Regions from separate parts of the Homo sapiens genome. Here all the other regions are linked to region 4. Evidence: promoter capture Hi-C in 16 types of primary human blood cells and fetal thymus (Javierre and others, 2016). All regions are on one chromosome and are shown on one strand. The core of a region is centred on a gene start or on the middle of the fragment in contact, and the rest is flanking DNA. Distances in the headings are between cores, read along the strand shown. Region 1 overlaps SLC6A16 (solute carrier family 6 member 16). Region 2 overlaps LOC107985340 (a long non-coding RNA gene). Region 3 overlaps SLC6A16 (solute carrier family 6 member 16). Region 4 holds the start of FLT3LG (fms related receptor tyrosine kinase 3 ligand).

The links. Contacts are between HindIII fragments. The CHiCAGO score rates a contact against its expected background, and 5 or more counts as called.
Region 1: a fragment that was not itself captured here is called in contact with the fragment with the promoter of FLT3LG in region 4 in 2 of 17 cell types (total B cells and naive B cells); the score reaches 6.0 in total B cells.
Region 2: a fragment that was not itself captured here is called in contact with the fragment with the promoter of FLT3LG in region 4 in 1 of 17 cell types (naive B cells); the score reaches 5.3 in naive B cells.
Region 3: a fragment that was not itself captured here is called in contact with the fragment with the promoter of FLT3LG in region 4 in 2 of 17 cell types (total B cells and naive B cells); the score reaches 8.7 in total B cells.

Annotation. Positions count from the first base shown.
Region 1 is chr19:49,288,432-49,291,131 of GRCh38, reverse strand. SLC6A16 (solute carrier family 6 member 16) reads left to right here. Exons shown (of 12, transcript NM_014037.3): 11 at 365-527; 12 at 740-1,494. The coding sequence ends at 1,009. Among named protein-coding and RNA genes, the nearest start is that of MIR4324, 19 kb to the left of the region's middle. The HindIII fragment of the contact is 6,288 bases long and covers 1-2,700 here.
Region 2 is chr19:49,240,416-49,243,115 of GRCh38, reverse strand. The region is part of intron 2 of LOC107985340 (a long non-coding RNA gene); the gene reads right to left. Among named protein-coding and RNA genes, the nearest start is that of MIR4324, 67 kb to the left of the region's middle. The HindIII fragment of the contact is 3,473 bases long and covers 1-2,700 here.
Region 3 is chr19:49,314,408-49,317,107 of GRCh38, reverse strand. The region is part of intron 1 of SLC6A16 (solute carrier family 6 member 16); the gene reads left to right. Among named protein-coding and RNA genes, the nearest start is that of MIR4324, 6.9 kb to the right of the region's middle. The HindIII fragment of the contact is 290 bases long and covers 1,238-1,527 here.
Region 4 is chr19:49,472,921-49,475,620 of GRCh38, reverse strand. FLT3LG (fms related receptor tyrosine kinase 3 ligand) reads right to left here and starts at 1,406. Exons shown (of 9, transcript NM_001459.4): 1 at 1,340-1,406; 2 at 949-1,018. The coding sequence starts at 981. RefSeq lists a silencer at 948-1,027. The HindIII fragment of the contact is 13,906 bases long and covers 1-2,700 here.

The sequences.
Region 1 (2,700 bases), core at 54-2,553, 180 kb after region 4:
GCCAAATGCCACTTTATTTTATCTGTGTTGTTCACTGCTGGATATCCAGCACTTAGAAGAGTTCCTGGCACATCATAGACATTCTCATATTTATGGGATGAATGAAAGAGACTTGGCCTTTCTCCTGAGGCCATTGGATACCCATGGAAAGTTCTTGAGCAGGAGAGGGGTGTTTGGAAAAGTTTCTTGGGTTAGGATAGAAGACAGACTGACTAGGGGGAAGATGAGAGAGGACAAGACTTGAGATGAAACAGGAGATTAGAGATACAATAGAATGTTTGAAAGATGCCAAGGTTGGGCTGGCCCTGCCTCCAAGGTGGTGAGGCCTAACTGGGCATCCCACACTCTGGTGGCCCTTCTCCAGGTTCCTTGCAGACCTGACGATCCTGTTGGGCCACCCCATCTCTCCCATCTTTGGTTGGCTGTGGCCCCATCTGTGTCCAGTTGTGCTGCTAATCATCTTTGTGACCATGATGGTTCATCTTTGTATGAAGCCGATCACCTACATGTCCTGGGACTCAAGCACCGTGAGCCTCCCCCAGGACCCAGAACCCCTTTGGGAGTAGGGGCCAGACCTTTCAATTCACTCTGGGTGAAAGAACCCAGTCATCTCATTCTCTTACTGCCCGAAGACTCATGGGTTTTCTGCTTTGGTTCCCCACCCATCCTTCCCCTCCACAACTCTTCCTTTTCTCTTGGGGATTTTGATATTCTGAACCCTTTTCCCATCTCTCCACAGTCAAAAGAGGTGCTTCGACCATACCCACCGTGGGCACTGCTCTTGATGATCACCCTTTTTGCCATTGTCATCCTCCCCATCCCTGCATACTTTGTATACTGCCGCATACATAGGATTCCCTTCAGGCCCAAGAGCGGAGACGGGCCTATGACAGCCTCCACATCCCTACCCCTAAGTCACCAGCTAACACCCAGTAAAGAGGTTCAAAAGGAAGAAATTCTACAAGTTGATGAAACAAAGTACCCATCAACTTGTAATGTGACTTCCTAACTTCATTAATTTGGCTTCACATAACATATCCCTTAGAACAGATCCAATAGACAACTCTTAATATCAGCTTGCAACTGTTGATCTCCCTGGATCCAGAACCACTTTTATTTCCAAGAGGAGGGGCATTCTTTGGGGGTGTTCATGGGGCCTGGACTTGCAATCCCTTCCTGGGTCCCATCTTACCTGGTGACCACCATCATTGTTTTCCCCATCCTCTTCCTCAACACACATACATGCACAACACATATACAATACTAGTGATGTCTACCAGTCCTGCTACTTCTGGGGTGCCTGTCTCCTGGAATGGAGCTGGAGGAGCAATGCTGTTGGTGAATAAATCAGTCTACTGGAACTCCAAGGACTGGATGTAAGCAGATCTTTTTTTCCTATAGATGTCTCAGATGTTCAGTTTTCCTGTCACAAGGCTTCCAGTCTGTATTAGTTCATTTTCACACTGCTAATAAAGACATACCTGAAACTGGGAACAAAAAGAGGTTTAACTGGACTTACAGTTCCACATGGTTGGGGAGGCCTCAATCATGGTGGGAGGTGAAAGGCATTTCTTACATGATGGCAGCAAGAGAAAAAAATGAGGAAGAAGCAAAAGTGGAAACCCCTGATAAACCCATTAGATCTCATGAGACTTATTCACTATCACGAGATTAGGATGGAAAAGACCAGCCCCCATGATTCAATTACCTCCCCTGGTTCCCTCCCATAACACGTGGGAATTCTGGGAGATATAATTGAAGTTTATATTTAAATGGAGACACAGTGAAACCATATCATTCTGCCCCTGGCCCCTCCAAATCTCATGTCCTCACATTTCAAAAGCAATCATGCCTTCCCAACAGTCCCCCAATGTCTCAACTCATTTCAGCATTAATCCAAAAGTCCAGAGTGTCATCTGAGACAAGGCAAGTCCCTTCCACCTATGAGCCTGTAAAATCAAAAACAAGCTAGTTACTTCCTAGATACAATGGGGGTACTGGTATCAGGTAAATACAGCCATTCCAAATGAGAGAAATTGGCCAAAACAAAGGGGTTACAGGGCCCATGCAAGTCCAAAATCTAGCAGGGGAGTCAAATTTTAAAGCTCCATAATGATCTCCTTTGACTCCAGATCTCACATCCAGGTCATGCTGATGCAAAAGGTGGGTTCCCATGGTCTTAGGCAGCTCCACCTCGTGGCTTTGCAGGGTACAGTCCCCCTTCCAGCTGCTTTCACGGGCTGGTGTTGAGTGTGGCTTTTCCAAGCTCAGGGTGCAAGCTGTCAGTGGTTCTACCATTCTGGGGTCTGGAGGACAGTGGCCCTCTTCTCACAGCTCCACTAGGCAGTGCCCCAGTAGGGACTCTGACTCTGTGTGAGGGCTCTGACCCCACGTTTCCCTTCTGCATTTCCCTCCCTGGCAGAGGTTCTGCATGAGGGCTCTGCCCCTACAGAAAACTTTTGCCTGGACATCCATGCATTTCCATATATCTTCTGAGATCTAGGCGGAGGTTCCCAAACCTCAATTCTTGACTTCTGTGCACCCGCAGGCTCAACATCACGTGGAAGCTGCCAAGGCTTGGGGCTTCTACTCTCTGAAGCCACAGCCCGAGCTGTACGTTGGCCCCTTTCAGCCATGGCTGGAGTGGCTGGGACACAGGGCACCAAGTCCCTAGGCTGCACACTGCATGGGGACCCTGGG
Region 2 (2,700 bases), core at 95-2,594, 230 kb after region 4:
CTTGAGCTCCGGCTCCAGTGGAAAAAAAAAAAAGAAAACAAAAAAGAAAAACAGACTAGGCCAGGCGCAGTGCCTCACATCTGTAATCCCAGCACTTTGGGAGGCAGAGGCAGGCGGATCACCTGAGGTCTTTTTTGTGTGAGATTAGGGTGGTGACACGTATGGGCACTGAGAACACTGTTCCAAGTGCTACAGGAAGCCCCAGTGCCCTTCTTAATACTTCACAGGGGGCTGGGCACGGTGGCTCACGCCCGTAATCCCAGCACTTTGGGAGGCCGAGGTGGGGGGATCACCCGAGGTCAGGACTTTGAGACTAGCCTGGCCAATGTGGTGAAACCGCATCTCTGCTAAAAATACACAAATTAGCCGGGTGTGGTCGTGGGTGCCAGTAATCCCAGCTACTCAGGAGGCTGAGGCAGGAGAATTGCTTGAACTCAGGAGGCAGAGGTTGCAGTGAGCTGAGATCACACCATTGCACTCCAGCCTGGGTGACAAGAGCAAGAGACTGTCTCAAAAAAAAGAAAAAGAAAAAAGAAAAACAGACTAGGCCAGGCGCAGTGCCTCACATCTGTAATCCCAGCACTTTGGGAGGCAGAGGCAGGCGGATTACTTGAGGTCAGGAGTTCGAGACCAGCCTGGCCAACATGGCAAAATCTCATCTCTACAGAAAATACAATAATTAGACGGGCCTGGTGGCGCATGCCTGTCATCCCAGCTACTCAGGAGGCTGAGGCACGAGGGTCACTTGAACCCAGGAGGCAGATGTTCTGGTGAGCTGAGATCACGCCACTGCACTCCAGCCTGGGTGACAGAGCAAGACTCCAACTCAAAAAAAAAAAAAAAAGCATATTGGAATAATTGGGAAAAACGAATAAGGTCTGTAGATAATAGAAGTAGATCGATGTTACTTTCATGATTTCAATGGCACTGTGGTTACACAGGTGAATGTCCCCGTTCTGGAAATACGCACTGCAGTATTTAGGAGTAAAGGGGCATCATGTCTACAGCTTACTCTCAAATGGGTCTGCTACATAATAGGTATTGTTATAATAAATGTGAAAGGCGGTGATGATAAAGGAAACACGGTAAGATATCACAATCAAGGACTCGAGGTGAAGGGTGACTAAGCTCTTATAGGGCACTCTTCATTTTATTGCACTTAGCTTTATTGTGCTTCACAGATACTGCATTTTTTTTTTTTTAACAAATCAAAGGTTTGTGGCAACCCTGCATTGAGCAAGTCTATCAGCACCATTTTTTTCTAACGGCATGCGCTCACTGTGTGTCTCTGGGCTGCATTTTGGTAATTCTCACAATAAAATTTTAAATCTTTTCATTATTATTATTTTTTTTGAGACAGAGTCTCACCCTGTGCCCTGGCTGCAGGGCAATTTTGTGATCTTGGCTCACTGCAACCTCCGCCTCTGGGTTCAAACGATTCTCCTGTCTCAGCCTCCCGAGTAGCTGGGATTTCAGGTGCCCACCACCATGCTCTGCTAATTTTTGTATTTTTAGTACAGACGGGGTTTCACCATGTTGGCCAGGCTGGTCTCGAACTCCTGACATTGTGATCCACCTGCCTTGGCCTCCCAAAGTGCTGAGATTACAGGCGTGAACCACCGCACCGGCCTCATTATTATTCTTCCATCTGTGATGGTGATCTGTGATCAGTGGCCTTTGATGTTTCTATTGTCACTGGGGCCACCACAAACTATGCCCATATAAAATGGCAAACTTAATAAATGTTGCGTGTGTTCTGACTTCTCCACCCACCGGCCATTCCCCCATCTCTTTCTCTCCTTGGGCCTACCTATTCCCTGAGACACACAATATTGACATTAGGTCAGTTAATAACCCTACAATGGCCTCGCAGTGTTCAAGTGAAAGGAAGAGTCACACATCTCTCACTTTAAATCAAAAGCTAGAAATGATTATGAGGAAGGCTCATCAAAAGATAAGACAGGCCAAAAGCTAGGCTTCTTGCACCAGTTAGCTAAGTTGTGAATGCAAAGGAAAAGTTGAAAGATATCAAAAGTACTACTCCAGTGAACACAAAACTAAGGAGTGGCCGCATGCAGTGGCTCACACCTGTAATCTCAGTGCTTTGGGAGGCTGAGACGGGTGGATCACTTGAGGACAAGAGTTCAAGACCAGCCTGACCAACATGGTGAAACCCCATCTCTACGAAAAATACAAAAATTAGCTGGTGTGGTAGCGCACACTTGTAGTCCCAGCTACTCAGGAGGCTGAGGAAGGAGAATTGCTTGAACCTGGGAGGTGGAGGTTGCAGCGAGCTGAGATTGTGTGCTACTGCACTCCAGCCTGGGCAACAGAGCGAGACTCTGTCTCAATCAATCAATAAAAAATAAGAAGTCAAACAGCCTTATTACCGATATGGAGAAAGTGTTGTCTGGACAGAAGGTAAAACCCTTAAGCCAAAGCCTAATCCAGAGCAAAGCCTTAACACTTTTCAGTTCTATGAGGGCTGAGAGGAGGAAGCTGCAGAAGAAAAGCCTGAAGCCAGGAGAGGTTGGTTCATGAGGTTTAAGGAAAGTAGCCATCTCCGTAAAGAAAAGTGCAAGGTGGCTGGGCACGGTGGCTCATGCCTGTAATCCCAGCCCTTTGGGAGGCTGAGGCGAGAGGATCACCTGAGATCAGGAGTTCGAGGCCAGACTGGCCAACGTTGCAAAACCCTGTCTC
Region 3 (2,700 bases), core at 133-2,632, 160 kb after region 4:
TTGGCTTCTCAAAGTGCTGGGATTACGGGCATGAACCACTGCACCTGGCCTATTTTATTTTATTTTTTTAGAGAATGAGGTCCCACTCTGTTGCTCAGGCTGGAGTTCAGTGGTGTGATCATAGCCCACTGCAACCTTGAACTCCTGGGCTCAAGCGATCCTCTCCACTTAGCCTCCCAAATAGCTGGGACCACTGGCGTGTCCCACTATGCCTGGCTAATTTTAATTTTAATTTTTTTTTTTTTTTTTTGGTAGAGATGGGTTTTCACTGCATTGTCAAGGCTTATCTTGAATTCCTGGCCTCAAGTGATCCTCCTGCCTTGGCCTCCCAAAGTACTAGGATTACAGGCATGAGCCACTGTGTCTGGCCTATCCTTCATCATTCTTGTTCTTGTATTGCTCAATTTGGCTTTACTCACAGGAATTTCTCCTCATTGTGGCCTCTGGGTTGGAAAAGATCCCTGGTTGGTTAATTTTAAGAGTTCATAGAATCTAGTCTGCCCTGGTCCCTTCAGTTTCTATTGTTGACTCCATGCACTCAACTGTTATTGGATTAGGCAAGACATCTTCTAGTTTTAGCTGCTGTTCTCTAATAGCCTTCCCATGATTTCTGGTGAGTACCTGTTGATTATTTTGAGAGACTGGTTTCCCTGTCCCCCATCCCCAGGTCTGTCAGATGCTCTCTTGCTTCCTTTGTTTCCTCCCACACAGATGCTGATTCTATACAGGTCTGTGGCTCTTGTGGTTTGTTCTCATAGACTTGTCTTTTGGGGTTTATCTTGATATTGTAAATATTATCCATGGATTTTGGGCTTGCAATCTAGTAGAACTACTTGTTTTCATGTGAGTATTTGGGAAGATTTTAAAACAATGTTGCTGTTATTGCCATTACCTTCCCAGGATTTTACTCTATATTTAAAAAATTATTTTATAAGTGGCATTATTATTTTAAAATTTTATTTTCTAATTATGTATTGCAAGCATAGACATATAAATAATTTTCATTTATTGCTGTTTGCATCCAACAATCTTGCTAAATTATCTTATTAATTTAAATAATTTATCTGTAGTATTCTGGATCTTCCACATAGATATATCATCTGTGAATAGTGAGTTTTGTTTAATCTTTGTCTTTTATTCCCCTTGCTTTCCTGTGTTGTCTAAAATATTTAATGCAATGGGAAGGAAGTGCTGATAGCTGGTTTCATTGATTGTTCTTGATTTCAAAAGGCAAGCTTTCTTCACTTCATTATTAAATATGTGCCTATGTTTAAGCATATGTTCACTATTAAGTATAATCTTTTTTTTTTGAGAGACACCATTTATCAGGTTAGGGAAATTATTCCTGGTTTGCTAAAAGTTTTTCTCCGTAAATCATCATTGTATTGTATGTTTTTCCTATATCTCTTGAGATGATAATATTTTTCTTCTTTATTATATCAATGTGACTAATTATATTGATTTTCTCTAGTGGTATGCTTTGAATCATCTCTACTGAGTTTTTTGCTTTGTAGTTACCACGAAGCTTACATAAAACATCTCCTGCCTCAGCCTCCCAAAGGGCTGGGATTACAGGCATGAGCCACCATGACCAGCCCCAAAGGCTGGATTTTTGTACCTAATTTTTTCTTCAGCCTTTTCTTCCCTGCATGATTTTCTGCTTCTCTCTTAATGTTATGGAAGCATCATTTGTCTCAGGGAGACGCCCATCAACCCACCAATAACTCCAATAAATCCAATAACAGAGGAGTGGCCCACCTGCTGTTGCATTCTCTGGCATACAGCTTCTGGAAGCTGTTGGTTCACTGGAGCAGAAGGTCTTTGGCAAGTGATTGTTTTTATTTCCCACAAGTTGCTGGGAAAGTATTTACTTACTTCCTGAAACACTGAACCACTTCATCAGGAAAAAGAGATGTGAACTGACTCCTCAGTGATTACAGTTTGGTCCTGTTTCTTGTTTATGTAGCAGAAGTTTCTCTGTTTTTGACATGAGGATGGAACCTATTTTTCAGAAATGATGCAGATATCCCCATATTTGTAATATTTTAAAATCATTGGTTTTTTTTTTTGTTGGGTAGGGGGAGATTGTGGGTAAGTTTGGAGATTGGTGTTCATGTGGCTATCTTAGAAGAAACTTCCTTTTGTTTTGATGGTGAATTGTAGGAGTGGCAGGTGCTTGGAAGTTTAAAAAATTTAACAAAATTTTGACATAATTTCAGACTTACAACACTTCCATCTTTCCTTGTCTTTATTGACTGTGACATTTTTACTGAGCACAGGCCAGCTATTTTACAGAATGTACTTCAATTTAGATTTGTTTTCTGGTGTTTCCTCACGATTGGAGTTTTGTTACATGTTTTTGGCAGGAATCCCACAGAAATGATGTTGTGCTCTTAATGCATTGTATCAGGAGTTATATGATATCAGGTGACTATTATTGGTTTAGGTAGTGTGTAATACTCTAAAGATACTAGTTTCTTGGGTTTTTTTGGGGGGAATATCTTGTGGGGAGATACAGTAATACTATGCAATTATCCTGTCCCCATCAAATTTTCATCATCTTGTTTTAGCAACCATTGATGATTCTTGCTTGTGTCAGTTATTACTCTGGTAATTTCCAAACAATGATTTGTTAAAAAGACATATTTATTGAGGGATGATTGACAAGTAAAAAACTGTACATATTTCATGTGTACAACT
Region 4 (2,700 bases), core at 157-2,656:
CTGTACTGTTCTGTCTTCCCCGCTCCTCCTTCCCTGGGTGTCCTTCTGCCTCTTCCACACTTTCTGGAGACATGGCCCCATCTCTGCCTGTCTTTCCCGGTTTCTCTCTGCCTCTGGTCCAATGCTGTCCAGTTTGCATCCCCCTCTGCCCCACCCCTCTCTCTCCCCATCTCCCCCACTCTGCTGGTCTCTCTCCAACCACCTCATCTTCACGTCTGGTTTCCTCGCCCGGGTTCCTCCAGCTCTGTCCCTCCCTCTGCCTTCTACACCACTGTTGCCTGCTTCTCTCTTGATCTTGGTCCACGTCCTCTTCATTTGTTCTTGGCTCTGTCCACCTTCCCTCTCCTCTGTCCATCTCCCCCCTTTTCTGTCCATCTCCCCCTCCTCTGTCCATCTCCCCCCTCCTCTGTCTCTCTTCCTCTCCTCTGTCCGTCTCCCTCCTCCTGTCCACCTCCCCCTCCTCTTCATCTCCCTCTCCTCTGTCCATCTCCCCCTCCTGTCCATCTCCCCTCTCCTCTGTCCATACCCCCTCCTCTCCATCTTCCCTCCTGTCCATCTCCCCCACCTCTGTCCATCTCCCCCTTCTCTGTCCATCTCCCTCCTCCTGTCCACCTCCCTCCTCTTTATCTCCCTCTCCTCTGTTCATCTGCCCTCTCCTCTGTCCATCTCCCCCTCCTCTGTCCATCTCCCCGCTCCTGTCCATCTCCCACTCCTCTCTATCTCCCTCTCCTCTATCTCCCCCTCCTCTGTCCATCTCCCCATCCTCTGTCCATCTCCCCCTCCTCTGTCCGTCTCCTCTCCTATCCATCTCCCCTCACATCTGTCCATCTCCCCTCCTATTTCCTCGTCATCTGTCCATCTGTTCTCCCGTCCATCTCCCCTCATCTCTGCCCCATCCTGACATTGTGCCTCCCCTCTCCCCTGATCTTGTCCCTGGGGTTTACGCACTGTTGGGCTCCAGGCTGGCGCCAGCACTGTCATTTCGGCCGGGGGCCCCTCATGCCTCCTGTCGCCGGGTCTTGGAAGGGACAGAAGAACAAGTCTCGGACCCTCATGCCCCAGCCCCTGCCCTGCCCGCCCCTTTGCCTCCCCGCCCCTCCCGCGTCCCATTGATGTGGCTGAGTTTCCGCCCCTTCCTCCCCCAGGCTTCCTGCGTCTGCCCCAGTTACGGTGAAAACTCTTCATCTCCACTTCTAAGAACCTCGACGTCTGGTCCCCAGAACCCTCCCCAGGTTAGGGACCCGGGAACCCAGCCCCCCACCCTCTGCTCCCCCTGCCCCAGGAGTGGGGACCCTGGCTCCGCCCCTTGGGGACCTAGAGTCCAAGTCTCCTCACGCACCAGGCTTGCCCCAGTTGGGTGTGGAAGGGGCCAAGCCGGGTGACAGCCAGAGACCGAAAGTGAAAGGAAATTTTTGGGGGGAGACAGTCAAGGGGTGGAATCTGGGCCCAGGCGGAGCGCGCCCCCTGGTGGTGAGAGGCGGCCGCTCACGCCGCAGATGGCGCGTTCTCCGGACGCCCCGCAGCGGGGGCTGCAGTGGGGCTGACTCCCTGGGTGGCACGCCCAGTGCATGGTGAGCTGGGGCTGGAACCCGGATCTGTCTCTGGGAACTCGCAGTTGCTGTGTCTTACCGTCCTCCGGGCCCCAACTTTGCCCCGCCAAGGCTTGGCACACAGGACTCAGGATGCATCTTGTCACATTGGGCCTGGCAGGTGTCGCCCTAGCACTAGCTTTATCACTGTGGGAGCTTGGCCAGCCCCTTGACCTCTCTAAGCCTCGGCTTCTCCAACTCCAAACTGAGGGGTGAGGTGGTACATGAGACAAAATAGAAGCTCTCTTCCACATCTGTGGATCTCTGAATCTCTGAAGCATTTTTTTTTTTTAGATGGGGTCTCACTCTGTTGCCCAGGCTGGAGTGCAGTGGCACAGTCTCGGCTCACGGCAACCTCCGCCTCCTGGGCTTAAGCAATTCTTGTGCCTCAGGCTCCCAAGTAGCTGGAATTGCAGGTGCGTGCCACCATGCCCGGCTAATTTTTGTATTTTTAGTAGAGACGAGGTTTCACTATGTTGGCCAGGCTGATCTCGAACTCCTGACCTCAGGTGATCAGCCTGCCTCGGCCTCCCAAAATGCTGGGATTACAGGTGTGACCCATCACGCCCATCCTGAATCTCTTGCTCACCCATCTGATCCGTGGCAGACTGTCCTGAAACATCTGCTGCCCCCACCCCCCCAGCAGGAGGATTCGAGGTCCCATCCTGGGGAACTCGGACATGGCCACACTCACTTTGGCCAGTCACATGAGGGTGGAGGTGACAGGTGTCACTTCTGAATGGAAGTCTAAGGGACCGGGGAGTGGATGGTGGAGGATGCATGGAGAGAGCGCCTCTATCAGCCAAGTTTCCTGTGCCACTCGGAGGAGCACAGGGATCCTGCCAGCCCCGGATGAGCACAGGGAGTGTAAGCAACAAACTAATGTTGTGGTTGTGGCCCACGCAGATTCGGGGGTTATGTGTTACTGCAGCAAAGCCTCGCCCGTCCTGGCCTTCATCATCCATTTCCCTTCCCTGATCCCTCTGCCTGCCTCACTTCCTGTTCAGCCTGGGTTAGCTGCCTTGTCGCACCCAATGGTCAGACCTTCCATCTGGCTAGAAAGATTTAAATGAAGCAGAGAGGCAGAGATACAAGCCCCAATAGCTCATGT